Linked DNA regions of Homo sapiens: all the other regions are linked to region 1. The links are contacts of gene promoters, found by promoter capture Hi-C in blood cells and fetal thymus (Javierre and others, 2016). All regions are on one chromosome and are shown on one strand. The core of a region is centred on a gene start or on the middle of the fragment in contact, and the rest is flanking DNA. Distances in the headings are between cores, read along the strand shown. Region 1 holds the start of WDR43 (WD repeat domain 43). Region 2 holds the start of LOC124907747 (a long non-coding RNA gene). Region 3 overlaps PPP1CB-DT (PPP1CB divergent transcript). Region 4 overlaps PPP1CB (protein phosphatase 1 catalytic subunit beta).

Evidence for each region. The method cuts DNA at HindIII sites, captures the fragments that hold promoters and counts their contacts. A CHiCAGO score of 5 or more calls a contact.
Region 2: a fragment that was not itself captured here is called in contact with the fragment with the promoter of WDR43 in region 1 in 1 of 17 cell types (total CD8 T cells); the score reaches 5.8 in total CD8 T cells.
Region 3: a contact is called between a fragment that was not itself captured here and the fragment with the promoter of WDR43 in region 1, in 2 of 17 cell types (naive B cells and total B cells). The highest score is 5.5, in naive B cells.
Region 4: a contact is called between a fragment that was not itself captured here and the fragment with the promoter of WDR43 in region 1, in 1 of 17 cell types (total B cells). The highest score is 5.3, in total B cells.

The regions. Positions count from the first base shown.
Region 1 is chr2:28,891,247-28,897,996 of GRCh38, forward strand. WDR43 (WD repeat domain 43) reads left to right here and starts at 3,421. Exons shown (of 18, transcript NM_015131.3): 1 at 3,421-3,677. The coding sequence starts at 3,453. RefSeq lists silencers at 3,405-3,484, 3,625-3,684, 3,725-3,774, 3,795-3,914 and enhancers at 3,565-4,188, 4,015-4,114, 4,189-4,810. The HindIII fragment of the contact is 5,798 bases long and covers 1,717-6,750 here.
Region 2 is chr2:29,126,942-29,133,691 of GRCh38, forward strand. CLIP4 (CAP-Gly domain containing linker protein family member 4) reads left to right here. Exons shown (of 16, transcript NM_024692.6): 3 at 4,317-4,456; 4 at 5,211-5,304; 5 at 6,714-6,750. LOC124907747 (a long non-coding RNA gene) reads right to left here and starts at 3,407. Exons shown (of 2, transcript XR_007086264.1): 1 at 3,187-3,407; 2 at 224-873. The HindIII fragment of the contact is 551 bases long and covers 2,039-2,589 here.
Region 3 is chr2:28,744,182-28,750,931 of GRCh38, forward strand. PPP1CB-DT (PPP1CB divergent transcript) reads right to left here. Exons shown (of 5, transcript XR_007086259.1): 2 at 4,639-6,204; 3 at 3,752-3,801. Among named protein-coding and RNA genes, the nearest start is that of PPP1CB-DT, 4.2 kb to the right of the region's middle. RefSeq lists an enhancer at 4,071-4,150. The HindIII fragment of the contact is 1,968 bases long and covers 4,326-6,293 here.
Region 4 is chr2:28,762,896-28,769,645 of GRCh38, forward strand. All of the region lies in intron 1 of PPP1CB (protein phosphatase 1 catalytic subunit beta), which reads left to right. Among named protein-coding and RNA genes, the nearest start is that of PPP1CB, 14 kb to the left of the region's middle. The HindIII fragment of the contact is 5,399 bases long and covers 44-5,442 here.

The sequences.
Region 1 (6,750 bases), core at 2,171-4,670:
AGTGTGCAGAGAACAGCAAGTGCAAAGATTGATCTCCATTCCACCCAAAACTCTTTCCCCAATTTAGCTAATGGTATCACTATTCACTTATTTGCCCAGGCATCAGAGTCACTCTTCATTCATCTGTTTTCCTCACCCTTCACAGTCAATTCATTTAGCAATTCCTGTTGGCTCTAACTTCAGATTATATCTGGAATCTGATCATTTTTCGCTACCTTCATTGCTTTCATCAGAGTCCTACCAATCATTGTCCTTGTCCCGACTACTACTCCACAGCCTTCTACCTTGTCTTTCTGCTTTTATTCTTGCCTACAGACTTCATCTAGCAGCCAGGATGTCTTTCAATAATATAAATCAGATCATGTTATTTCATTGCTCAAAACTGCAGGGGGCCGGATGTGGTGGCTCACACCTGTAATCCCAGCACTTTGGGAGGCCAAGGCAGGAGGATTCCTTGAGTGCAGGAGTTCAAGATCAGCCTGGGCAACACAGAAAGACCCCACCTCTTAAAAAAAAACATTAAAATTCTCCAGTGGCTTATTTCTATCATACTTATAATAAAATCCAAATACTTCACTCTGATTTACAAGGTACTAAATAGTCTGGCTCCCTCTGAACTCAGCTGCTACCTTTGATTTTTCTAGTTGTCACTATCTACCCTAAGTTTCTCCAAAGCTTTTTCTTTCCACTAGTCAAGGTCTTTGTTGCCTCAGTCTTTGCACTTGCTATTCTCCCCAGGTTGACTGCTCTTCCTTCTGATATTGCATGGTCTGAGTGAGGCTGTCCCTAATTCCTTTCAATACTTAAACTCTTTTCCCTCCTCCGGCTTTATTTCTCTTTATAGCAGCTTGCACTAGCTGAAATAGAGTTTTCTTTGTTTGTTTATTATGTGCTTCCCTGATTAGAATGTCAGCTTCATGAAAGCAGGAATCTTGTCTCTCATGATCACTGGTAGATTCCTGGTACCCTAAAACAGTGCCTGGCACATAGCAGGCATTCAGTTTGTTTGAGTAACTGAATGAATCCAAGTGCCAAATTAGATGTCTCAAATTTAGCATTCCCAGACTAAAGACACTATCATCTTCTTGCACAAAAATCTTCCAGGATTCACTATCCTAAGTGAATTGGGTCACCAACCAGTCTCTCCCTGTAAAAGCTCAATGAGTAATCCTTGGCCGTTTCTCTATCTCTCCCTTGGCCACTTGAAATCCGGCTCATTGTACATAATAAACACTCTTGAAACTTCCTTGCATCGCTATTTCTCCAAGCCACTCACCATCATCTCCACCTGGGGTTTCGAGCCTCCAACCTAGCTTCCTTCTAATACATTCATTACACTGTCTCCATGTAATCTTTCTAAAATGCAAATATTGGTCAGGCACAGTGGTTCACGCCTATAATCCCAGAACTTTGGGAAGCTGAGGCGGGCAGATTACTTAAGGTCAGGAGTTCCAGACAAGCCTGGCCAACATGGTGAAACCCCATCTCTAATAAAAATACAAAAACTAGCCAGGCGTGGTGGCACACGCCTGTAATCCCAGCTACTTGGGAGGCTGAGGCAGGAGAATCACTTGAACCGGAAGGTGGAGGTTGCAGTGAGCTGAGATTGTGCCACTGCACTCCAGTCTGGGCAGAGTGAGACTCTGTCTCAAAACACAAAAACAAACAAGAAAACAATAAAATGCAAATCTTACCATGCTGCTCCGTAGCTGTAAAAGCTTGAGCCTTCCCATGGCCATGAGAGTGGTTTTTATCTTTCCTGGCAGGCAATAGGCTCTGTGTGGGCTGAACAGTACCTAGCATTCCTTGAATTAGAATGCATTGATTTGGTGAATATTTAGGAGAAATATAAAAATCTACCCTTTATTTTTTGGATACAGGATCTCACTATGTCACCCAGGGTAGAGTGCAGTGGAGCAGTCATAGCTCACTGTAGCCTCGACCTCGTGGGCTCAAGCCATCCTCCTCCCTCAGCCTCCAGACTATGGGCGTGTGCCTAAAAATGTCTATTTGATGTAGCAACATGAGATAAATCTGGAGAAACAGGAGGGAATAGTTGTTCCGATCATTACTTTTACATTATTATAACTGAATACATTGTTATTTTGTAAATGATTACAGCCTGGAATTGAATAGGGGGAAACGGAAGCAGTTGTTACAATCATTATCAATTTGAAAGTGAAGACTTCTTTTCTCTCTCTTTTTTTTTGAGACAGTCTCGCTCTGTCACCTAGACTGGAGTGCAGTGGCGTGGCGATTTCGGCTCACTGCAACCTCCACCTCCCGGGTTCAAGGAGTCTCCTGCCTCAGTCTCCCGAGTAGCTGGGACTACAGGCACACACCACCACACCCGGCTAATTTTAGTATTTTTAGTAGAGACAAGGTTTCGCCATTTTGCCTAGCTTGGTCTCGAACTCTGACCTCGGGCGATCTGCCCGCCTCGGCCTCCCAAAGTGGGATTATAGGTGTAAGCCACCGCGCTCGGCTGAAGATTTCCTTCAAACCTTTCGTTCTACCTTATCATTTTCTTTAAAGTTTTAAAAAATTGTTATTTATTTATTATTTATTTTTTTAAGACGGAGTTTCACTCTTGTTGCCCGGAGTATAATGGCGCGATCTCGGCTCACAGCAACCTCCATCTCCCGAGTTCAAGCGATTCTCCTGCCTCAGCCTCTCGAGTAGCTGGGATTACAGGCGTGCGCCACACGCCTGGCTATTTTTTTTTTTTTTTTTTTTTTTTTTTTTTTTTTGAGACGAGTCTCGCTCTGTCGCCCAGGCTGGAGTGCAGGGGCGCGATCTCGGCTCACTGCAATCTCCGCCTCCCGGGTTCAACCAATTCTCTGCCTCAGCCTCCCGAGTGGCTGGGATTACATACAGGTGCCAACCACCAAGCCCGGCTAATTTTTTTGTATTTTTAGTAGAGACGAGGTTTCATCATCTTGGCCAGGCTGGTCTTGAACTCCTGACCTTATGATCCACCCGCCTCGGCCTCCCAAAGTGCTAGGATTACAGGCGTGAGCCACCGCGCCCAGCCCACGGCTAATTTTTTTATTTTTAGTAGAGACGGGGGTTTCTACATGTTGGTCAGGCTGGTCTCGAACTCCGACCTCAGGGGATCCGCCCACTTCGGCCTCCCAAAGTGCTGTGATTACAGGCGTGAGCCACCGCGCCCGGCCCCCCCCCTTTTTTTTTTTTTTTAAAGGAACAGGACTTGATCTTAATTCTACAATTACTTTCTCCCATACTCCCACTCCCGCCCAGAACAAGATAGCGACAGGCCCTAGCGGGCCACCGTCCACAGGGCGGATCCGCCAGAAGCTCTCCTGCGACGCGAAGATCCACTCCCTGAGCCCCCGGCGCTCCCTCCGCCTCACTTCCTCCTCCAGGCTCCGCCCCGCGCCGGTGCGCCTGCGCACGGACGAACACGTGGCTGCAGCGGGGCCAGAGCAGCAATGGCGGCGGGCGGCGGCGGTAGCTGCGACCCCCTGGCCCCTGCTGGGGTCCCTTGCGCCTTCTCCCCGCACAGCCAGGCCTACTTCGCTTTGGCCTCTACCGACGGTCACTTACGAGTATGGGAGACGGCCAACAACCGGCTGCACCAGGAGTACGTGCCTTCCGCGCACCTCAGTGGTACCTGCACCTGTCTGGCCTGGGCGCCAGCGCGGCTGCAGGCCAAGGTAAAGCGAGCGGGACTGCGCGGGGCGGGCGCCTTCCCGGGCTCGGCTTCGGGCCTCCGGGCCGGGTGGCGCGTGGTCCGGCATCGCGCGTGGCTCTCAGCGGCCCGGGCCAGAAGGCTTGGAGGCGGCGTCGGCGCGTTCAGGGCCCAAGCCGCCAGCCCCGCGTGCGGCCTGCCGCGAGGGCAGTGAGGGAGGGCGCAGCTCGACCCGGCCGGCCTCGTATCCGAGCCCTGCCGGCTGGCCCAATGAGGCCTGGGCCCCACTGTTGACGGGCAGCCATGTTCGCCAAGTCCCCTGGTCCCCCTGGGGCGGCTTCCTTCTGCCGGGCCTTGGCTCATCAGAGTTCTGGTTTTTGACAGAGCCCCATCTTGGGACTATCTAACTTTCCTCTGTCTGTGATCCGGCTCATCAGTTTTGCACTGGGCAGTTGGTATGGACTAGTCTGTACTTGCTTCCGGACCTTCCCCCTCCTGCCCCCCCTTTGGGTGCCGGCTCACCACGTGTTCTCGTCCCCGTCCAGGTTGTGGGACTCTCAACTCTTAACTTTTGCCTTTCCCAGGCACCTCTACATTCTCAGCTTTTTGAACTCACTGCTTTTTGATTTTAACATCTGCTCGCCCCTCCCGCCCCGCTTTCAAGCCGATCACACTGCTCCCCACCCACCCCAATCTGAAGTCTGTATTAGGATGTGGAGGTTAAGTGAAGTAGTAGCTTGATTTAGTGAATGTTTTATGAGTGCAGATGAAATTACCCTTAGATGGAAAACTGCCGAGTTAGGCAGAGCTTTTCATTGTTAGGGACCCGTGTCAGGTAAATGCCTTTCACTGTTGAGTCACTCAGCTACATCTCTCTAACTCAGCATGCACGTGGTTATTGCGTTTACAGAGTAGCCAAACCGAATCACTGCAAAGTGATTTGGAAACATCAGGTATCCTGAGGTGTGTGATGTGAGCTGTTTCAATGTGGAGAACTGTAAAAGCTATTTAGGATCTTACTCTCTCTGACGACCTGGGAAGCCTGCTAAATTTTTGGGTTGGGAAAAGGGATACATATAAGTTGCTATACTTTGGGCATGTTTAGATATTTTTCAAATTTTAAGCTACATTTTCATAGTTTATCCTGTTGATTCATAAAATAAACCTATCAGGGCTTATAAGTCAAACATAAAACTAAAAAAAAAATCAGTTTTTATTGTTAAAATTACAGCGCTCTGCTTATCTTTTATTTTCAAAGTTTTCTGTGGTTGTATTTTAACAGTCCTGTAAAGTGATAGTAATACTAATGCTGAGAGAAATACGGAGCAGTGGTTAGGTAGGTGCGTGGACCCAAGCTGGCTATATTGTCTATATTTGATTCTAGCCTCTGCTTCATAGTGGTAATTGCCCCTCTGGTTCCTCATTTATGAAATGAGGATAATAATATCTTCTTCATAGAGTGGTTGTGAAGGTTAATATATTTAATAATGCAGAGAACACTTAGAATAGTTCTTGACAGGTAAGTGCTTTAAGTGTTAAGTATTATTAATATCTGATATTTGTGTGGTTAGTCCTGAAGTGTTGATAAGGAACTTTCTGCCTTGTTTCGGGGAAAGAAACAGAAACTCTGGGAAACTAAGCAACTTGAATAAAGTAAAAAATGGAACCAGGATTAGAACTCAGGTCCTTAAGAGCTCGGTTCTTGGTTATCTGCAACAGATAGTTAATATTAGGTTGGAAAAAATGTCACCCACTTTGCTTTTCTGTTGAGTTTCAGTTGCATTGTATGCCCAAGAGAAATTTCCTAATCTCATATTAAAAGTCATAGTTTTGGATTATGTGCAACACTATGGTAAACTAGAAAAATAACTGGATTTGGTTTCATAGCCCAGACTCAAAACTTACTTTGTCATATTGAGCAAGTTGTTTTAATTTTGAGGACCTCATTGACAAACGAGAGTTGAGCTACATTAAACAAAATTTTTTTCTAGGTTTCAGCATCGTTTTATCTGCACTGTCTCCTTTTAACCACATGACTATGGAATCCCCTGAAATTAATTGCATTTTAAAAAAACTGATTGAAAATCAGAGCTAAGAAAGGTAAATGACTTGACTCAAGCCTTAATAACCAATAAAGGAGTGTGGCCTCTAGAGTCATGGTGCCCCGAACTCCTGGTCAAGTGCCCCGATTTTGTTACTCTCAATCTTGAGTCACAGAACTGAGAGAGCTGGAAGGAATGTAGAGACATTCCCTACTTTGAGGGTGTGTCCTCTTGGAGCATCAGTTTGACTTATAAACTAAGGAGAGACAGTTTTCTTGTATTAAAACAAACTTGCACATATATTATGGTATAAAATTAAAAAGTCATATGTACTGTAACAAGATATCTTAGAAAAAAAAGGCACATGTTAAGGTGCTCTCATCTTATTAAACCCTTCCTTTTATTTTACATCTTTGAGGCTTAGTGTATGAGGCATGAAAAGGATGTTGCTCTGAACCCACTTTCCAGCATTTTGTTAAGGTCCTGCTATATGATGACATATAGTACTCTCAAATTTGAAATAGAGGTATCATCACCCACCTTTTAGGATCCTCAGGATCAAATTAGGCAATGTATGTGACTGGTGTAGTATGGCCTAGTATGTAATAAGTGGCTTAATAAATGTTATTATTGAGTGAATCTGGACTCGTTTTACCATTTAATTTGGCATTTAATATGGTAAATCAATTTGTAAGAAAAGTATTCTATGTTTGGTTTAGTAATTGGCAGTTTGCTACGCAAGGACAAAGTGTGGTGATGATAACTCATCAATGGAGAAAGATTAGTTAGTGCTGGGTTTCTTGGGTAACGGGTTAAGTTTGTGGTTCACAGGTGTTTAGAAAAATTAGATTGTCACCTCTTGTTGGTCACAGAATGATTACAATACTTTGCATTCGTGCCACAATAGTTTTTAGAGGGTTTTTGTACGTTATGTAGCTGAGCATTCCATTTGGTCTTTGGAGCCTGGGGGAAGAGGACCTTTAATGAGGACAAGAAGATAGGAAAGTGCAAAAATACAAATGGAGGGACTCTATCTAGATGGATGCTGTTTTTAAG
Region 2 (6,750 bases), core at 1,064-3,563, 230 kb after region 1:
CAAAGACAATAAACAGGACTAGAATCTGATAATGGGCGTACTTAGAGTTTTCTATGGAAACACAATTTTTCTCTCTACAGTTCCCATTTCTACCAAAGATAATCACAGGCTAATTTGTTCGCAAAATAAGTTTTGTCTCATTAAGCTGGCCTGATTATATATGTAAGTGCAGCAAGAATAGTGAATATGTACACATTCTCAAGTATGCCATTCCAGTCAGAGGTTTGATAATATCTAAGGGGCTTTATTGGTTTTGTAAAGTCAATCTGAATTCCTTAAAACTGTCTGGTAATAAGGAATCTGAAATTAGACTTTAAAAAGCCTTTTCAGTCTAAGAAGCCAAGCAGAGGACTTGCCCAATTGTGTCCTGTTACAGGGGAAACAAACTTTCATTGAACTTATGTAAATATTTATATTGCCATGAAAATAAAGAATACTCAATAAGTTTCTGAATTTTGGAGGGGTTGGGGTAGGGAGAAAAGAAAATGTGTTTCATTTTTGTTTACAAAAGTATTCTTCACCAAATTGCTGTAAGTTGTAGGTCTTAAGGGAAAAGAGAAAAGGCATTCTTTAACTCTAGAAAACAAACATTAAAGAACCCGCAATATTTCAAAGACATAAAAATTATAATCACCCTCATCAGTTCATTCAGTCCCCTGTAATTCTTGTTCTGCTTGATTTTGGGTTAGCAGCCTCATGAATCCATTGGTTTTCCATTAGAGTGCTGGAAATTCTTACCCAGTCCAATGCTGTGATCTTAAAGTTACCAGAAACCTGCACTTGTCAGAGTCTTTTCTGTAAATCTTCCAGCAATTTTGTATCACAGATGCTTGCAAAAGCTTTCAGGAAAATATCAGAGTAAAAAATCACTGTCTGTAGATGGCAAAAGATTTAAAATGTCCATAGTTACAGATTTGATGACAGTTCATTTTAATGCAATTGACAAGGAAATTTGGTTGTTTATTTTATAACATTTGAAGATAATAACTGGAATTATGACTGATAAAATTATACCAGAACATATCCAATTTCTAGGAATTTCATACAATTTCTAAAACACTTACATTAATAATATAGTCATACAAAAATAACATAAGGTTAAGCATCACCTTTGACAATGCTTCTCATGCAGTGTAATAGATCAAATAAGCCTAGTTAGTTTCACATATCAAATAAGCCTAGTTAGTTTCACATTTATTTGACAATGCTTCCCATGCAAAGATGCTTAATTAGTTTAATGTCTGTGTTTTTTTTTTTTTTTTTTAAAGAAATAGAACAAGATTTTCTAGGGGCCGTTGAAAAATCCCAGAGTTAGTCTAAGGTCAGAAAAGACTTCATTCAGAATTTGATTTTTGAGACGTTTATAAAAAGAATACCCAAAAGATTCAAGATTCAAAGCACTTGATTAAATAGGATTACAGGTATTTAGTTATCCATTTAACCAAAGTGACAAAGATTTCAAAGGCAAATACAGAGAAAGCCATGTAGTTGTTAAAAAAAACAAAAACAAAAAAAAACAAAACCCCTTGACTTTTTGAGAGAGAAACTTAATCAAAGACAGCACGAAGCACATGAAATTATCTTGACAAAATACAGAATCTTTGCTTTCTAGGCAGACCATTCAAAAGTTAAAGAAAAACCTTTCACAATCTCCCATCAAGAGCAGGCCCATACTCCAAGAAAGTTTAGTCGTTTTAACAGGAGCTGAAATGCTAGTTATGCATTATTTTGATATGAATGATAATAGATTCATTCAATTTTAGCCAGCTTAATCACACAAGATTCTCTCTCCCTCTTCTGAACTTCCTATAGCCATTTTGGTTTTTTTCCTTCATTTTCTTTTTCAGCAAAAAACATATCTTCCTACTTCACATTTTTTCTTGACTGTCACGCTAGCATTCTGTAGATTGAGAAATCTATGTAAATACACCATAATTTCTAGAAGCACGTTTCCTTATATTATAATTTTTCAGTGTAGCACAGGACATGTTTACTAACACACCCAGGTATCTTTAGTTTCTCTGTCCAAAAGTAGATAAGCTTATGTTCAGCAATTAATGTTTCAGTATTTATCTTATGTGGACTTACATTGATTTAATTCACTTGTTTTGAACAATTATGCTTGGATTACTTACGAAAATTTCATGAGACATTAAATAGCTAAGCATCATCTTGTTTTTCTTGCTGAGAAATTTTGTAACTTAGAGATAGCAGAGGCTTATTTGTAATTCACTTGTCTAACATGAGCTTATTTGACTAGTAGACCTACATAGAATCAAAGTTGTACGTCTGCCTTATGTCTAATGCTGACAACTCTGAAGGCATATTGGTTTTTTAAACTAAACCAACAATGTTTTTGTTTATTGAAAATTACCCAAGTCACATGAACTTGAAAAGCATTTGGATTAGTTCCTATTTTTCTGAGAGTTTTCAGGAATACTTAATTTATATAAGCACTTGTTTTTACTTATGTCTATTGAACATACATAGCTATAAGATCTCTGTGTCTGTTTGTGTATACAGACAGACACAGAGATCTTATAGCTTTCATTTCCAAATTTTAGCCATGTGTCAATTAAAATAATACAAAGCTTATTGGTTTATAAAAGAAGCTGGATCCAAATTGTACCTGTGAGAGATGGAACAAGTCAAGGTTACCTGCTCAGATGGCTACAGCTTTTTAGTGAAGATTTTTTTTTTATTTGAGTGCTGTAGGGATGCTTTTAGAGAAGCTATTTTTGAGTCATTTTGTGTTCAGCAGCTTCTGCATACAAATCAAAGAATGCATTCCATTGTCTCCAAAAGGCTTAGGATACTCCTCCTTCAAGGGCACTCCCAAAGGCAGACTATCTTACCTAAATTAAAGGTTCTCCGAAGTGGTCACTGAAATTGCAAATTATTCTTTGTAAAGTTCACCTATTTTTTCTTGTGAACTTTGTAAAGTTCACAAGATTCTGATCCACAGTGTTTTTGGACCCCATCTTTGCATTAGATTCTCTGAAAGGTCTTAACTATTAAGGATTCTTTTTTCAGCAGCTGCTCTGGAACACAGGGAATCATGTGTTTCACCCTTCCCCCTTTTGAACAGAATAGGTTGACTTCCTGAGAAGTTTCAGCAAAGGTTGTTCAGCATAATTGGAGAGTTCTACACAGAAGGAGGAGAGCTCAGATTCAAAAGAGACTTACTCTAGAACTCCATGGCTGGGTGAGAGAGCAGCCAGTGCTGCGGCCCTGGGTACCAGCACCTAGTTACTGGCCTTGGGGCTTCACAGGGGTCTTCTTCTGATCCTGCTTCTGACATCAAAAACTGTCAAAAGAAAATTCAGGGTGCTTTTCTTAATATAAATATTAAGTTAGTAAAAAACTGCAAATAGGGAGACTTCCAAATCAAAAGTGGTAAGAAGCTTGTCTCACGAAGGTTATAGTAAGGTTTATAAAGCCTAGAAAAGGAAATTCATACAGCTTAATTCTCACTGGTTAGAATGAGTGGGTTAGTTTAGTCATTACTGATTTGCTGCAATGTGCTGAGTCATGCTGACCAAGAAATGAAGTTCAAGCTTCATGTGCAGTTTAAGTAGGTGTTTTGGAGAATAGGTCCTTACAGGTTTTCCTGAGCTGGGGGTGGGACTTTGGCTCAGAGGCCAAGGTTTGTCTTGGCTTCTATTTTGATTTTTGCCTAACAGGACCATTTTGTTGTCTAAGCTTACGAATGTTATCACATTTCAGTTCAATCTTTCTGATTCTCTTCTGATGGACTGCTGCTCTGCTTGTATATGTGTCTTTAGTTTGGTGCCTCTCATCTTTTAGTTATGCTGACTCTAGAAGTAAGAACTATGTGTACATAGTATAATTTTGGAAAATATATAAATGCAAAGAAGAAAGCAAAAACAAAAAAACCTCAATGAGTCCCACTACTTATGCATGCTGTTACAATCTGAGCTCAGTGGTGAGTTACCTCAGCAAGTAGAATAATAGAGGAAAGAAGATAGACTTTGGAGACAGACCTGGTTTTCTACCCCAGATTTGCCACTTACTAGCTGTGCGATGTTGAGCTGGTATTATTTAGTCTGAGCTTTGCTTTCCTCATGTGCAAAATGAGAATAATACCTGCCAGGTAAGGTGTTGGTGAGGATTTTTAAAGTATTTAGTAAGTGCTCAGCAAATGTTCATAATATTTTCCTTATTTAGATACTTCTGATTTTTTTTTAGCATCTAAAATATTTGTATCATTTGAACCTTGGTTTTATTGTTTATTATTTTCAATATATTTATTTGAAACTTTTAGTAAATTTAATTTGCATCTTTTTTTATTTCAGAATTTTCTTTCTTTGATCCTAATGATGCATCATGCCAGGAAATTCTTTTTGATCCCAAAACTTCAGTTTCAGAATTATTTGCCATTTTGAGACAGTGGGTTCCTCAGGTCCAACAAAACATTGACATTATTGGAAATGAGGTAAGGAATTCTTACATTTTAAGTTTTGCATTGTTAGGATTGTTAATGGTATAGATTTTTTTCCCCATCTGAAAGGAAGATGGTAATAAAGGAGAAACCCTTTAAAAGTTCTGATATTTATTTGTATTTCCAGGATTTTCATGGGGCAGTGAGTTAATACTATATATTCTTCTGATTATTTCTTCATGCTCTGTACTTCTGACATTTGTAGACTCCTGGCGGGTGCAGGGAGGGGCATTTTTCATATTTCCTTCTTTGTAAAATTAATTTTGTAAACTTTTATGCATTTCATAAAGGGATTTGATTACCATCATGTTCTATTTACACTTTTGGTTGGTTTGGTAAATATATAGGCTTGAATGTAGTCTTTAAGAATATTAGATTTTTTGAGGGAGGGTTCCTTGACCAGTATGTTGCTGTGTTGTAGGAAGAGAGTGCTTATACTTTTTTCAAATATCATTACACGCATAGAAATAAAATTTTGCTCATTTTTGAGAGGAACATATTTGGAGTGCCAGATTACCTTTGGAATAATCTTTAAGAATTTCCTTCAGCCTGCTGACAAGTTCAGTTTTCATTATTGTTGTTGAGTACAGATTTAAAAATTTACCCTTAAGATATGCTCATACTGTCTATACATTTTACTGAGAAGTAATTCAGATACGATAGACTAACTTGGTTCCTCAGCATTGGTTTGAAAGCAATAGGTACCTCAGTAGTTAGGTTGTAACCATATTTTCCTTGACTGCTTCAGATTCTTAAGAGAGGTTGCAATGTGAATGATAGAGATGGATTGACAGATATGACTCTTTTACATTATACCTGCAAATCTGGAGCTCATGGTATTGGTAAGTGTGTGGTAAATCTATCAGTTGCTTATGTCATCTGCACTTGTGCTTAGATAATCTATATTTATGCCCATATATTGTCTGGGGGAAGGCACCCAGCTGATGATGATAATATTGCCTGAAGAGCTGAGGATTCAGTTAGGTCCTTCCAAAAACCATATTCCCTTTAATCAAGGAGGTCTTTATACCCTCCTGATACCTCTTAACTTTTCTGGATCAGGCCTCATGCCTGATTGCATAATAGATGAGAGTAACTAGTAACACCCTAAAATCTTTCTGAGGGTTTATAACAAGGTTTGACAGTCCAAGGTCAGTCTTTGCATACTGATCCCTAATCTTAAGACCCCAGTCTTGAGACCTAAGGTCTGTTCCTACATATGTAACATATGTGCATATTTTCCAAAATTGTTATTCTCTTGTGCTTTTTGTCATTGTATGAACCTGCATCTCTTACTTAACTATATATTGTGATTGTCTCTCCTTGTTTCAATAGTCTGATGTGGTGGTGCTGAAGCTACTGGTGGTGATGGACTCCTTTTTCCCCTCACAACTCATCATGAACTGATACTTTCACAAAATAAAATAAAAATGAATTTATAATACAAAATAAAATAAAGCCATAAAATATAAGCCCAAATATTTTTCAAATGGCATAAAACTGGCCAGGCATGATGATTTACACCTGTAATCCCAACACTTTGGGAGGCCCAGGCAGGAGGATTGCTTGAGGCCAGGAGTTTGAGACCAGCCTGGGCAACACAGTGAGACCTTGTCTCTACAAAAAATTAAAAAATTAGCCAACCATGGTGGTGCATGCCTAGAGTTTCAGCTGCTTGCGAGGCCGAGGTGGGAGGATCGTGTAAGCCCAGTAGTTGAGGGTTGGCGTGAGCTGTGATTGTATCACTACACTGCAATCTGGGTGACAGAGCAAGACTGTCTTTAAAAAAGAGGAAAGAATAAAAGGCATAAGACTACATTTCAGTTAACATAATGAGAAGACATATTAAATAGGGAAAAGCAATAAAAGGTACACACAGATTGCAATTTGGGACTGCCAGTGGTCCACGGAACACGTTTGGGGGAGCACTGATCTGCTGTGTTGTTGTTGATGGCTTCATAGCATTCTATGTGTGTCTCAATTTATTTAACCAATTTCTTATTATACTTTTTGGATTTTTTAGAATTATATTAACAATAAGAGTGCAGTGATGAGCATCTTTGCAGCCAAGTGTTTATCTGTATCCCTGAGTATGATTATTTTCTTAGGATCAATTCTTGCAAGTGAAATTTTTGAAGTGTGTCTATACAGTGCACTGTTTGCTTTGGCTTTTTAAATGAGGCAATTGGTAGCCATCCATTGGAACTTAAAATTTGTACTAAAGGAAAGTAATTTAGAAAATCTTCTTTAGGTGATGTGGAAACAGCTGTAAAATTTGCAACTCAGCT
Region 3 (6,750 bases), core at 4,060-6,559, 150 kb before region 1:
GGCAAGTGGATCATCTTAAATCAGGAGTTCGAGACCAGCCTGGCCAACATGGCAAAACCTTGTCTCTACTAAAAACACAAAAATTAGCCGGGCGTGGTGGCGGATGCCTGTAATCCCAGCTACTCAGGAGGCTGAGGCAGGAGAATCACTTGAACCCAGGAGGTGGGGATCGCAGCGGGCCGAGATCATGGCACTACACTCCAGCCTAAGCAACAGAAGGAGACTCTGTCTCAAAAACAAACTAACAACTACAACAAAAAAAACAAGATCATGTCTTTTGAGGGAACATGGATGCATGGATGGAGCTGGAGGCTACCATCCTTAGCAAACTAATTCAGAAACAGAAAACCAAATATCACATGTTCTTACTTATAAGTGGGAGCTAAATGATAAGAACTTACGAATACAAAAAAGAAAACAAGCACTAAGGTCTACTTGAGGCGGGAGGGTGGGAGGAGGGAGAGAAGCAGAAAAGAGAATTAGTGGGTACTGAACTTAATACCTGGGTGATGTAATATATGTACAACAAACCCTGATGACATGTGTTTATCTATGTAACAAACCCTCACATGTACCACCAAACCGAAAATAAAAATTTTTAAAAAAGGAATGTGGACAAAAGAGAGTTGCTTATTGTGAATGTCTGTCTGGCCAAGAAGCCCCTCAGATGTGCAGGGAAGGCATTCCCTACCTTTCTCCTGGAGGTAGCTGGGGATGACCTCTCCTTCTCATTCCTGAAGACTGTCTCGCTGCCAGAACCACCCATATTCTGCTCCTCCTCACCCAAAATTTTCCTGCTGTAAGTTGACAATCCTTGCCATCAAGTTACATCCGCTGCCCCACCCCATCGCCACTCACTTTTTCTCACAACAGAGTCCCAGAGCTAGTCCACCTAACTAGCCCAGCATCTCTAAATCACACTGCCTGGGTATTCCAGCCAGGGCTTTAGAATTGGACTGACCTGGTGCCTAAAGACAAGTCAAAGCCTCTGAGTCTTGATTCATTCCCACATCTATAAAAGGGAAACTACTTACTTCACAGGATTTTCTGAGGGATTAATTGTGATCATGTCAGTAAAAATTCCCAGCACATGGTACACTTATGAACCTCCAGCCAGGAACCTTTCTGACAAAGGAGCAATGCCTGTCACCTGGGCATGGGGACATTGGATCTCCCAGCCAAGCTGGGCTCTGTCTTAATAGGAATGTCACTACTAGAAGTACCTAAATGTTCTTAGAGCTTGGGATCACTCAATCACATTCTCTGGGTGGTTTGTTAAAACCTGGACTGGACTATGAGGAGCGAGAGCAACCTTTTTTTAGCAACAATAAAGTCATTCTTTGAGGTGACTGCACCGTTAAAACACACAGGGGCAAAACAGAAAAATGCTGTGCTCATTGCTGAGCAGGTTGCCCTGAAAAGTAGAGAATGAAAAATAGGAATAACGGTGGGCATGGGGACCCTGGGTTCTAGGGTGCTCTTGTGCAGGAAGGAGAGGGGACAAAAAGAGTAGGCTCTTGCACAGTATGAAGGCTTTCGAGTAAAAATCTGAAGGAGATGGAGAGATTGAGATTCAAGTCCTCGTTTTGCTAGTAAATCAATGCAATTTAACTTTGTTTTTGTTTTCTAGAGACAGGTATTGCTCTGTCACCCAGGCTGGAGTACAGTGGCATGATCATAGCTCAACACATCCTCAACCTCCTATGCTCAAGGGATCCTCCTGCCTCAGTCTCCAGAGTAGCTAGGACTACAGGTGCATACCACAGGGACTGGCCAAGTTTGAATTTTTTTAGTAGAGATGAAGCCTTGCTATGTTGCCCAGACTGGTCTTGAACTCCTGGGATCACGCAAGCCTTCTGCCTCGGCTTCCCAAAGTGCTGGGATTACACGCATGAGTCACCAAGCCCAGCCATAATTTAACCTTTCTAGATCACAACTTCCTCAATCGCAAAGTGAGATTAAAAGTAATTGTATCTTTTTTAAAAAAAGTTCCCAGCACAATATATTTACTCCCTTTCTTCCTTCTGCCTTCACATTCCCTATCCTTTGGTTTGGGAGCCAGCTCCTTCCTGGCAACCAAACCCCAAGATGTCATGAACTGTGCTCAGCCCACCATGCCCTGCCCCCACTCCCCCCCGCCCCCCAAGGATTCAAAGGTATCAGAGCATCCCTTGCCCTCTATGCTGCCAGCCCAGCCTTTGTCTCCCATATAGGGTCCAGGTCTGTCTGTAAATTGGAACTAGACTTGTCTTCACGTCTATTGCTCAGGGTAGTAGAAAACACTGAGAGATGTTTTCTGCCATGCCAAATAGGAATCCTCAATAAATATTCCCCATAAACTCTGTTATAATTGGTGGCTAGAGTCTATATTGCCATGGACACTCTTCTATAGTTACATTAAGGACTAAATTGATTTTGCAGACTGATCTGAGAGTTTAACCACCATTTGTACCACAGTCTCTGTGGGAAAATATATTCCATGTTCCGAACAATTGACCCTTTGGAGTTGGTCCAGTTCCTGAGCTGGGGACGGCATGTACAATATTATGTTACATTTTGGGTTTTATTTGTATGTCTTAGAATCAGAGACTTGTTTGAGCTAGAAGAAGCTTTGGAAATCATTTATTAATGGGCACATTTTGTAGGTAATGAATCCAAGGTTCAGAAAGATTGAATTGTCTAAGGTTATTCAGCTGCTTTGTTCTCCCACCTCCAAGCCAATGCTTTTCCCACTATCCAAGTCATTTTGTGGTCATTTTCCCACATAGTCATTAAACAACTTGAAAGTTGGGAAGTCATGCCTTCTTCAACACAGACTCAAACTCACTAAGTGTTTCATAAATACTTAATTGGTTCATTATTCTTTTTGCTTCAGAGGTCTATTCACTGTAAGGTTTTCTTAAATAACAAGTACCATAGAGCATTTCAATTAAGAACTTATTATGATAGACTGGATTTGGTTTAAATCAAGATTTAAATAATAATTAATAAATATTCTATTTAACCAGTGTTTCCTATATAAAAGACCTATTGGTGTTGGATGTAACTCTGATGAATATATTTCACAGCTCACAAATAGTTTGGCTTTAGTTTTAACAGACATATGCTATTAATTTTAATGTGGTCTTATATATTATGAGAAGCTACTCATTTTATAACTACATAAAAAAAGTAATGCTTTCCTTGTCTTATCTACCAAAACCCAATTGAAACAGAGACATAAAAACCAGTTAGGGCCAGGTGCGGTGGCTCATGCCTGTAATCCCAGCACTTTGGGAGGCCGAGGTGGGAGGATTGCTTGAGCCCAGGAGTTCGAGACCAGCCTGACACAGCGAGACCCTGTCTCTACTAAAAATAAAAAAAAATAGCCGGGCATGGTGGCACATGCCTATGGTCTCAGCTACTACGGAGGCTGAGGCAGAAGGATTGCTTGAGCCTGAGATGTCAAAGCTGCAGTTAGCTGTGAATGAGCCACTGTATTCCAGCCTGAGTGAGGCTCTGTCTCAAAAAAAGAAAAAAAATTAAGCCATTTAGCGGTAAACCTCCAACTGAAAAGGTGAATTATATGTGATTTGGATATACTACAGGAGAAACAGAGCAACAAGAAACAAAACATTTACAGTACACTGTTTCATTTGAAACAAATATTCACATATTGTATACTTTCCCTCATCAAACAGTTATTTCCTGGTATCCATTTCAGTGAGCAGGATGGGGGGAGGGGGGAGCAATAAAAGAGAAACATTCTTACCTGTGTAGATGACTTGCTTTTATTGTAACAAAGGCAACTGGCCCTGTAATCTAATTACAAGAAAAAAAGGCCACAGATAAACTCTTCAACAATTAAATAGTCATTACTTGTGGTAGCTGTTCACCTAGCTTTAATTGCCTTATAGTTAACAGTTCTAAATAGCCAGTTAACTCCTTCAATTACTAGACATTTATTTTTCAATCACTTTATCTTGAAAGATACGGATGTACTATGGAGTTAGCTTAAGACAAACTGAGAGAGAGAGAAGAGAGAGTTGGTTGGGGCCACCGGGGAGGTTACTGACCAAGGGCAGGGAAGGAGGCATTTATTTATATTTGCCTTATAATTCTGGGGGACTAAACTGGCTGAGGACATGCCTTATGGCTTAGCTATAATTTTGGCTATTCTCATATGTATAATGAAATGAAACCAAAACTAAATCTTAAGAACAAATCTTGGCCCTGCCTGGCTGTACCACCTAGGCCTGGCTCTGTATTGAGAGAGGTGGCCTCCTAATGATGCATATATGTCCTTGTCTGGTTTTCCAATTTTCTTGAATTGAGCTGACTATAAAAGCTTAATGCATGCGATATAAAGAATGGCTGACCTCCAGATACAACTAGTAAAATTTCAACTTACCACTACTTAAGACTTATTAAACACTTGATTGAGAAGAATCATATTTATGGAAGGACAGCCCAATGAATGTTGATTCATTCATTTAAAAGTCATCTTGGATTAAGCCAGAGCAGCAAAAAACTATATATCACCCCCTCCACATTTTGCTACCTAAACTTACTCACTTTCACACCAGATTGGCTACTGGCTAATACTGACAGGCATATAAGAAAAACATCCCTATGAAAGTCTTTGCTGCGTTTACTAACCGGAGTCACCAGGCTGCTGTTTACTGTGTTCCGAAATGCCTTCTCTAAGGACTATCCATAGAGACAGCTCTCTGGTCTCAATTCAGAGATGGTTGGGTTCCTCTGAGCACTGGTTTGCCTTTATCTGATAGGCACAGACATTATCTATTAGTAAAAATAAAATAATAATTTTATTAAGACCCCTAAATCATGATGCCCAAACCCCTTGCAATCAGGAAGTCTAGATAAATAACAGGAGTTTCCCTTCATAGAGATTTCTGGAATTACCCAAGGATATTAACATGCATGACCCAGATGCCTCCCTAAGCCTTATGGTGTGCTGGCAAATGTTTAACAACCATTATTCAGAAATAAGACAGGAAAACTGCCATCTATGACTGGTAAGATTATAGGTGATTTTTGTATTTTTTTTCTTCATTTTCCCAACTTCCTTCAGGAAACACATTTTACTCTGAAGGGGGTGAGGGTGGTGGCTAATACTTGGGATTATGGTGAGCTGCCCTAGAAACTATCGGGTTATTAAGTAACACTTAATATATGTACCAGTTTCACTTCAAAATCTGAAGCATTCTGAACTCTTAATTATTTTGGAGGGATATCCCACAGAAAAGTTGGCTGAGGCCCTAGTGATAAAGCTCTTTCTTACAGTGGCCCATTCCTGCCCAAGACTCCAGGCACTGGAAAACCTGGTGGGGGTGGAGAAGGTAACATCAGCAGGCAAGTACTCGGAACCACTCTCCTATCTCCTACCTCTTCTTCTCACGACCTCCAAAACTCTGCTGAGACCGGCCTCCCTCTGCCTCACTTGTGGTGATTTTCTCTCGGATGCTCACTTTCTCTCTGTGCAATCTTTCCTTTGGGTGTCCCTTGTCTTTAAACATGTCTGCGTATACCTGAACTCTAATTGTGGACAGGGTTCAAAGTTCTTTTTCATGGGATTCATGGGCCCCATGAAAATTAGAGGCTAAGTAGGCATCTAAGTAGGAGCATTTACGTGCTCCCAGGCATTCTGTTACACTTAAAGAGGCTCATGGAAGAGATTTGGGCAAGTGGTATAACTCTACAAGCTGCTATATTCAAGTCCTAGTTCCAGCTTAGCCAAAACACCTACTCCGATTGCAACTGATCTTTTTCTTGGTTGCTAGAAAACTGAGAGTCATATGTGTGGCCTACCTCCAGCAAACCAATAGGACCTTACACCATGCATTTTGCATACAAAACTGCTGGCTTAATCTTATCTTTCACACTCACGGTTTTCTTTTGTCCTATTTTTCTCTGTACTTATTTTTAATTTACCCTGATGTACACATTTATGTAAACTACGTTAAATCCTTTCCTCTGGAATAAAGTAGGGTGTAAATAAATTTAACAAAACAACAAAGAGTGATGATGAGCCAGGTCTTCACTCCTGAAGGCCTCAAAACGAACTGGCAGTGATCTGTGAAAACTACAGAGAACTGCCCGTTCATCTCCACAGATTACTGAAGTCTGTGAAAACTACTCCAGCCAGGACCACCATTATAGCCTGCTGCCTGTTGTGTTCACAATCGATGCACAAACTCAACCCTGAAATGGAGAGAAAAATAGGGGAAAAAAGACATTAGGAAATCCTAGCTCTATGTCATCTGGACATTAGAAAGCACTTGGTTGGACAAAGCTTTTTCTCCCCCACAGCACATGCCTGTTTCAGCATCTCAGCCCACATTCACGGAGAGGGAGAATATAGCAATTGTTAAGAATGCAGACTCTAGCACTGCATGCTCTGCTGTTTATTTGTGTTATTTGGGCTAGGTTTTTTAACCGTCTGTGCCTCGGTGAATCCCATCTACAAAGTAGAGATAATAATAGTACCTACCTCACAGGGCAGTTGTAAGGATTAAATGAGGTAACCCGGGTGTAACATTTAAAACAGTGGCAGAGTACATACAGGGATCTGAACAAATGTTAGCTACTATTAGTGATATGTGAGTGGGGGAAGCACACTGCCTTGGACTTGAGGCAATATCAAGTCTGAGTTTCTGGAAAAACACTTGTGGAATAAGTAAGGGCTGGCCACCTCCTAAAACCGGACAAAAGATCTGGCTTGCCTAGATCCTTAGCGTGACTGCTTCT
Region 4 (6,750 bases), core at 1,493-3,992, 130 kb before region 1:
GTGCTGATTACAAGGTTTCTAGAATTTTAGTTTGTAACTTGAAAGCTTGAATTTTATCATTGGCAACAAGTACTGTCAGTTGTTTTCCTTGAAATGACAGGGTCACTTTGTTCATGTTCACGTGTATCTGTTGAATATCTAAGTCTGAATAACCATAGTTTGTCAGTTAATACTTTCCAGTAAAAGTGTTTAGTGAAAAAAAGTGTCTAGGTCTGCTTGGAACTAAAACAGTCACAGGAGTGCTTTCCTTTGCGACAACCATTGTACTTTGGGATGGAGCAGGAGTGCTTTGTGGGCATTTCCATTTTATCATGTAGATTATTAAAGAGATGTATTCAAAGATTGAAGTTTAATAAAATTGATCATTTGTACTGCTTTACCAAAGGGCATACATGAAGCTGCCTTTTTTGTGTTTCACTGCATGTGTGTTGCAATGAACAACACAGTGACTGACTACCAGTGGGGTTTGGTGCCACTGACTTGGTGTGTACTGAGACACTTAACAGTTTTACCCATCCTTGCTTTTGTATTATCAAAGCAGATGTCAGTGCAGTGGAAAAAAAAAAAGTCCTTTATTCCTGAAATGTCTAGCCCTCACCTATATCTGTCACTTTTCTTCTTCACTCTTTTCTCATTATACTTGCTATTTGTTTACCAATGTACCTGAAATGACTTTTTACTTATGCTTTGTGAATTCATGAAAGCCATGGGCCTTCTCAGAAAAATATTTTTACATATACACAATATTACAGACAATTTGTGGTACTATACAGAGCCACTAAAGGCCATTTTGGTCTCTGAATCCACGTTAGTTATTCTTTTGTTTTGAGACGGAGTCTCACTTTGTCACCCAGGCTGGAGTGCAGTGGCACCATCTCAGCTCACTGCAACCTCTGCCTCCCGGGTTGAAGCGATTCTCCTGCCTCAGCCTCCCGAGTAATCTGGGATTACAGGTGCGCGCCACCACACCTGGCTTATTTTCGTATTTTTAGTAGAGACGGGGTTTCAGCATGTTGGTCAGGCTGGTCTTGAACTGACCTCCTGATCCGCCCACCTTAGCCTCCCAGAATGCTGGGATTACAGGCATGAGCCACCATGCCCGGCCCACATTAATTATTGTTAACAGGCAGTCCTAAGATGAGAGGGAAGTACAGCAGCTGCCTAATTTTTTTTCACTTAAAACCGTGTGTGTGTTGTGTGCATAGAGAAAGATGGGGAGGAAAGGAAGACAGAGTGGGAGAGGGAGAAGAAAAGCAAGAGAGAAAGAATGAAAAAGCAAAGGGGGCTGGACGTGGTGGCTCACGCCTGTAATCCCAGCACTTTGGGAGGCCGAGGCAGGCGGATCACGAGGTCAGGAGATCGAGACCATCCTAGCTAACATGCTGAAATCCCGTCTCTACTTAAAATACAAAAAATTAGCTGGGCATAGTAGCACCCACCTATAATCCCAGCTACTCGGGAGGCTGAGGCAGGAGAATGGCGTGAACCCGGGAGGCAGAGCTTGCAGTGAGCTGAGATTGTGCCACTGCACTCGAGCCTAGGCAACAGGGCGAGACTCCATCTCAAAAAAAAAAAAAAAGAGAGACTCCACATTTTAGCCAATTGTAGAATTTTTATTTTTCTGCCTTTTTGTTGCTTAAAAGCAGGCTTTTGTGCTAAATATGGAGAAAATGCTAGGAAAAAATTAGGATGTCTAGATTTAACTGCCATTAATTAGTATGTAATCTTGGGGGTGGGGGTTGAGTAAGAGTTAGAATACCAGTGGTCAGTGAAGATTACTAAGATTTTATGAGGCCAAGGCGAGTGGATCACTTGAGGTCAGGAGTTCGAGCCTGGGCACATGGCGAAACCCCGTCTCTACTAAAAATACAAAAAATTAGCTGGGCATGGTGGCACACACCTGTAATCCCACCTACCCAGTAGATTGAGGTAGGAGATTCACCTGAAGCCAGGAGGTGGAGGTTTCAGTGAGCCAAGATCATGCCATTATACTCCAGCCTGGGTGACAGAGAGACCCTGTCTCAAAAAAAAAAAATTTATGAGACACCGTGCATAGGTGTTGGAATTAGTGCTTTTTTCTTGCCATCTTTTCTGTTTTAGAGAGGTAATGATAAGTAAGAACTTGCTGGGGAAAGTAGCATAAGGTTAGTGAAAAGTAAAATTTAGTATACACACAACACACAGACACATATATATCACATACCCTTGGATATGTGCGTTGGAAAGACAAACCTGCAATGGAAAAGTTTTTACACTGATATAAAATGTGAAATATAATGGTTGAGTAAAGGACAGAATTCTTTTGGGAGAGGATACACATTTTGCTTAATTGAGATTCAAAGTTAATGTTCTCTGTCATCAAAACTGATTGCAAGTGGTCATCTCTTGATGCTGATCTGTAGTGAGATTCTATGTATTTCATCTTAGAAGATGTCTTTTTACACAGGGACATACTGCATATTCATCACTTGGAAAGCATTTATAGAATTCTCCTGATACTTGCCTTTCAGCATGTCATTACATTGCAGATTAATCACTTCCAGTAGAGGGTTAGGTGGAAGCTCCTCGGCTGCACAGTTAAATGGATTTTGATATATGGAAATTTTTTTTGCGCTTGAGTCAAGGTTTGAAGAATGCTAGTTTGAGTTTGAAAAAATGTATCTGCTGCAAAATTGTGTGGGAATGAAGATCTCACTTGTCTTAACTTGGCAGCACGGGTTATGTATAAAGCAGTTTGCTGACTGGGTATGGTGGCTCGCGCCTTTAATCCCAGCACTTTGGGAGGCGGAGGCAGGAGGATCACTTGAGTTCAGCAGTTTGAGACCTGCCTGGGCAACATAGTGAGACCTTGTCTTTATAGAAAATTAAATTAGCCAGGTGTGGTGGCATGTGCCTATAGTCCCAGCTACTTGGGAGGCTGAGGCAGGAGAATGTCTTGAGCCAGTAGGCTGTAGTGAGCCTCATTACACCACTGCACTCTGGCCTGGGCAATAAAGCAAGACCACATCTCAAAAAGTAAAAAATTAAAAAATAAAGCAACTTGCTTTAATTCAGACAGTATTAGTTGTCAGAATGACTTACCACAATGGAAGTTTCTCATATATTTTTTTGCCTTATAATTTTAGGCTGAATTTATTAGAAAACATTTAGGGGAGCTTTCATTCTATTTTGTAGAATAGAGGCTACCTCGAATTAAAAGGGGAAAAATTACTAGATCTGCCGCAAAATTTAATTTCTAAAACTCTTCTGTGTTTGGTAATAGTGATTGAGGGTGGTGGTTCTTGTTTAGAAAAAATTCAGTATCAGCCCTGAATGCAAATAAATTACAATAAAGCTGTCACTGCTAAGCCATCAAAATCCTGTGTGGTTGGCCAAATGAGGATATTCAGCTTTTATTACTAACAAATAGTCATGTAACTGACAGTGGTTAAGTTCATTAGAGCAAATGAAGTTGACCATTGATGCCTGTGGTTCAGTAATACCTGATTAAGATATTTTTCCACAAAAAAACTGCACCAGACTTCAAACATCCTACATTTTCTCAGACTTTGTAAAATAGTCCAACTAAGTATTTTTCTACTTTACCATCATCAGTTGTGACATATCTTAGCAGATTACACTTCAGGTTGTACTAAAATAGTTTTTCTCAGCTGCTTTGAGAATATTCTTGCCTCTAGTTGTTCCACATAGATTATTTATAGAGGGTAACTTTTCAGTCACTTCGAATGAGGATTGGCTCCCCAAATAACAAGTATTGGTAATACCTGTCATCGAGAGCCAAGGAACACCACTCAGAACCATTTGGCTTGTTTTTTAATTGTTTACTAATTTTGCTCCCAGTGTTCTCAACTCTTCAAGCACCGTTTTTACAGAAAGGCTAATGGCGTTTAAAAGTTTATTGTCTCAGCTGGGGTGGTGGCTCACGCCTGTAATCCCAGCACTTTGGGAGGCCAAGGCAGGCAGATCACGAGGTCAGGAGATTGAGATCATCCTGGCTAACATGGTGAAACCCCGTCTCTACTAAAAATACAAAAAATTAGCCGGGCGTGGTGGCGGGCACCTGTGGTCCCAGCTACTTGGGAGGCTGAGGCAGGAGAATCGCGTGAACCAGGGAGGCAGAGCTTGCAGTGAGCCGAGATCACACCACTGCAGTCCAGCCTGGGCAACAGAGCAAGACTCCATCTCAAAAAAAAAAAAAAGTTTATTGTCTCAAAAAATACATAGTTCTTCAGCTTTTCCAATCAGATACAATTTAATTAACCCACCATTGATAAATGACTTAACTTGGCTAACAAATGGGCCACTTGGAAACTTGAGTTGCAGACTCATTTTTATTTTTGTGAAGAAATTCTGCTGTGATGAGATTTCATTTTAATTTTTTAAAAAGTTCCCTTACCATTGCTTTACTATGAATTGGGAATGCTGTGGTGAGTGCTCCATCTGGTAACATCAGTATATGTTGTGGTTTTTTTTTTAGCACAGCTACATAATGACTACAATGCCTTAGCACCCAATTAAATAACATAATCCACACTTTATTGTGTCTTAAAAACACAACATTCAAAGTTCACTTTTTTTGCTTTGACATGATGAGTATGCACTGGTAGTAAAAGTAAATAAAATGTTGCAGTACAGCAATAATCGTGACACCCATGACGCTGCCAGGTTGTAACTGCATCTGTATAATTTGTGATGCACCGAAAAGCAGTGTGAAGTGATGAGAGTACCATATGTAGTCCATCACAACTGCTCAGCTCTGCCATTGTAGCATGAATGTGTCCAGTGATAAATAAGTGGCTATGCTTCATTAAACTTTATGGCCACCAAAATTTGAGTTTCATATAATTTTTATATGTCACAGAGGATTCTTTTGTTTTGCTTTTTTGCAATCATTTAAAAAATGTAAAAAATTATTCTTAGGCCCCTAGCCATGCAAACACTGGCATTGGGCTAGATTTGACCCCTTGGCCTTAGTTTGCTGAATACTGGTGTAGTTTTTCTGCCTTTCCTAATGTAAACATGATTGTAGAAAGATAACCTTACTGGAAGTCAGGAAACCTTGGTGCTCCCACCAAAGTTGTGTGACTGATTAAGTCAGGTGAAATAAATTGGGATTAGGAGCCATGGTGTCTAGTCCTTGACAAGTCATTCCTCAATTTTTTTAATGTAATCACCTGAATTTCTAGTGTATGCATAATCACATTTTGTGTGCCTCTCGGCAGCCATTCCATTGTTGAAGAGGCAGCCAACACAGAAAATTGTTGAGGGGTTTTGATCTTTGACAAGGGAAGCGTATAGTGTGAGCTCACCAGTCACCCTGGCTTTTTTCCCTGGAGACATTTCCTAGTTTGTGGCATAGGGGAAATAGATCCCAAATAAAAAGTGACGGTCTCACTGGGCTAAGGAAGAAAGGTGGAAGTTTGGGGCCACTAAAGCAATTGAAGCTTAAGTCCAGGAGAGGAGAGAACCACATAAAATCTAACCTCAAAATCTGCAGTCAGGTCCCTCTAAAGTCATTGACTGACTTCAGAGGTACACATAAGCAAGAGAAGAAACCCAGCAGAAAACAGTAGCTGAAAAGCTAAAGATCTGAGCAGACATTTCAGTATCTAATGCCAGAGAGGCAAAAATGGAAGTTCAAATCCTGCCAAGTTAGAGGGGCCTTATTACACCCTGAGTTTTCCACTGTGGCCCCATCATGACCACTGCCTAAGATTGAAGGCAAAACTAAAACAGACCAGCCCTCAGGAAAATGAGTTACTGCTGTGCTGCTGCTAAAAGGAAACAGCCTTCTTTGGAGAAAGGTATTATCTAAAACTTCTACAATTTTGTATCCATAATTCAGTATTTCATTCACCAAAATAGGATATGCTGTTTTGGACAAGCTAATGAAACTGAATTGACCAAAAACCAATAGAAATTATCTAGTGCTGACAGAAAAAAAAAAGTGTACAGAAGAAAGCATGAGAGACTTATGTATTGCTGATAGACAGTGGAAAGGTCTATCATGTATAATAGGAATCCCAGAAAGAGAGGAGATAGACATACAATGGGATGGAAATATTGACTAATAATTTTCCAAAACAGAGATATCCAAGCACATATTAAAGAAGCTGTGTGATTCCAAGCAGGGTAAATAGAGAGAAAACCATATTGAACATAGCTGCTAGAAATCCAAGAGAAAGAGAAAATGTTAAATGCTGTCAGAAGAAAAAATTCATTATCTTCAGGGAACAATAATATGAATGATGGCTGATCTATCACCTGAAACTGTGGAAGACAGAAGACAATAGAATGGTGTTCTCTTTAAAGCACTGAAAGAAAAAAAATGACAACCTAGAATTCTTTATTTATTTTGAGATGGAGTTTTGCTCGTGTGGCCGAGGCTTGGAGTGCAATGGCGTGATCTTGGCTAACTGCAACCTCTGCCTCCCGGGTTCAAGCGATTCTCCTGCTTCAGCCTCCCGAGTAGCTGGGATTACAGGCATGTGCCACCACGCCTGGCTAATTTTGTATTTTTAGTAGAGGCAGGGTTTCTCCATCTTGGTCAGGCTGGTCTAGAATTCTAAATCTAGAATATCCTTCAATAGTAAAGTAAAATGAAGACAAACTAAAGCTCAGAAAATATATTGCTGATATGCTGACACTAGAGAATATTAAAGCAAGTTCTTTGTGTTGCAAGAAAATAACAGATAAAAGCAAAGAACTGCAGAAAGAAATGAACAATGGTAAGGATAAATGTGAGTAAAT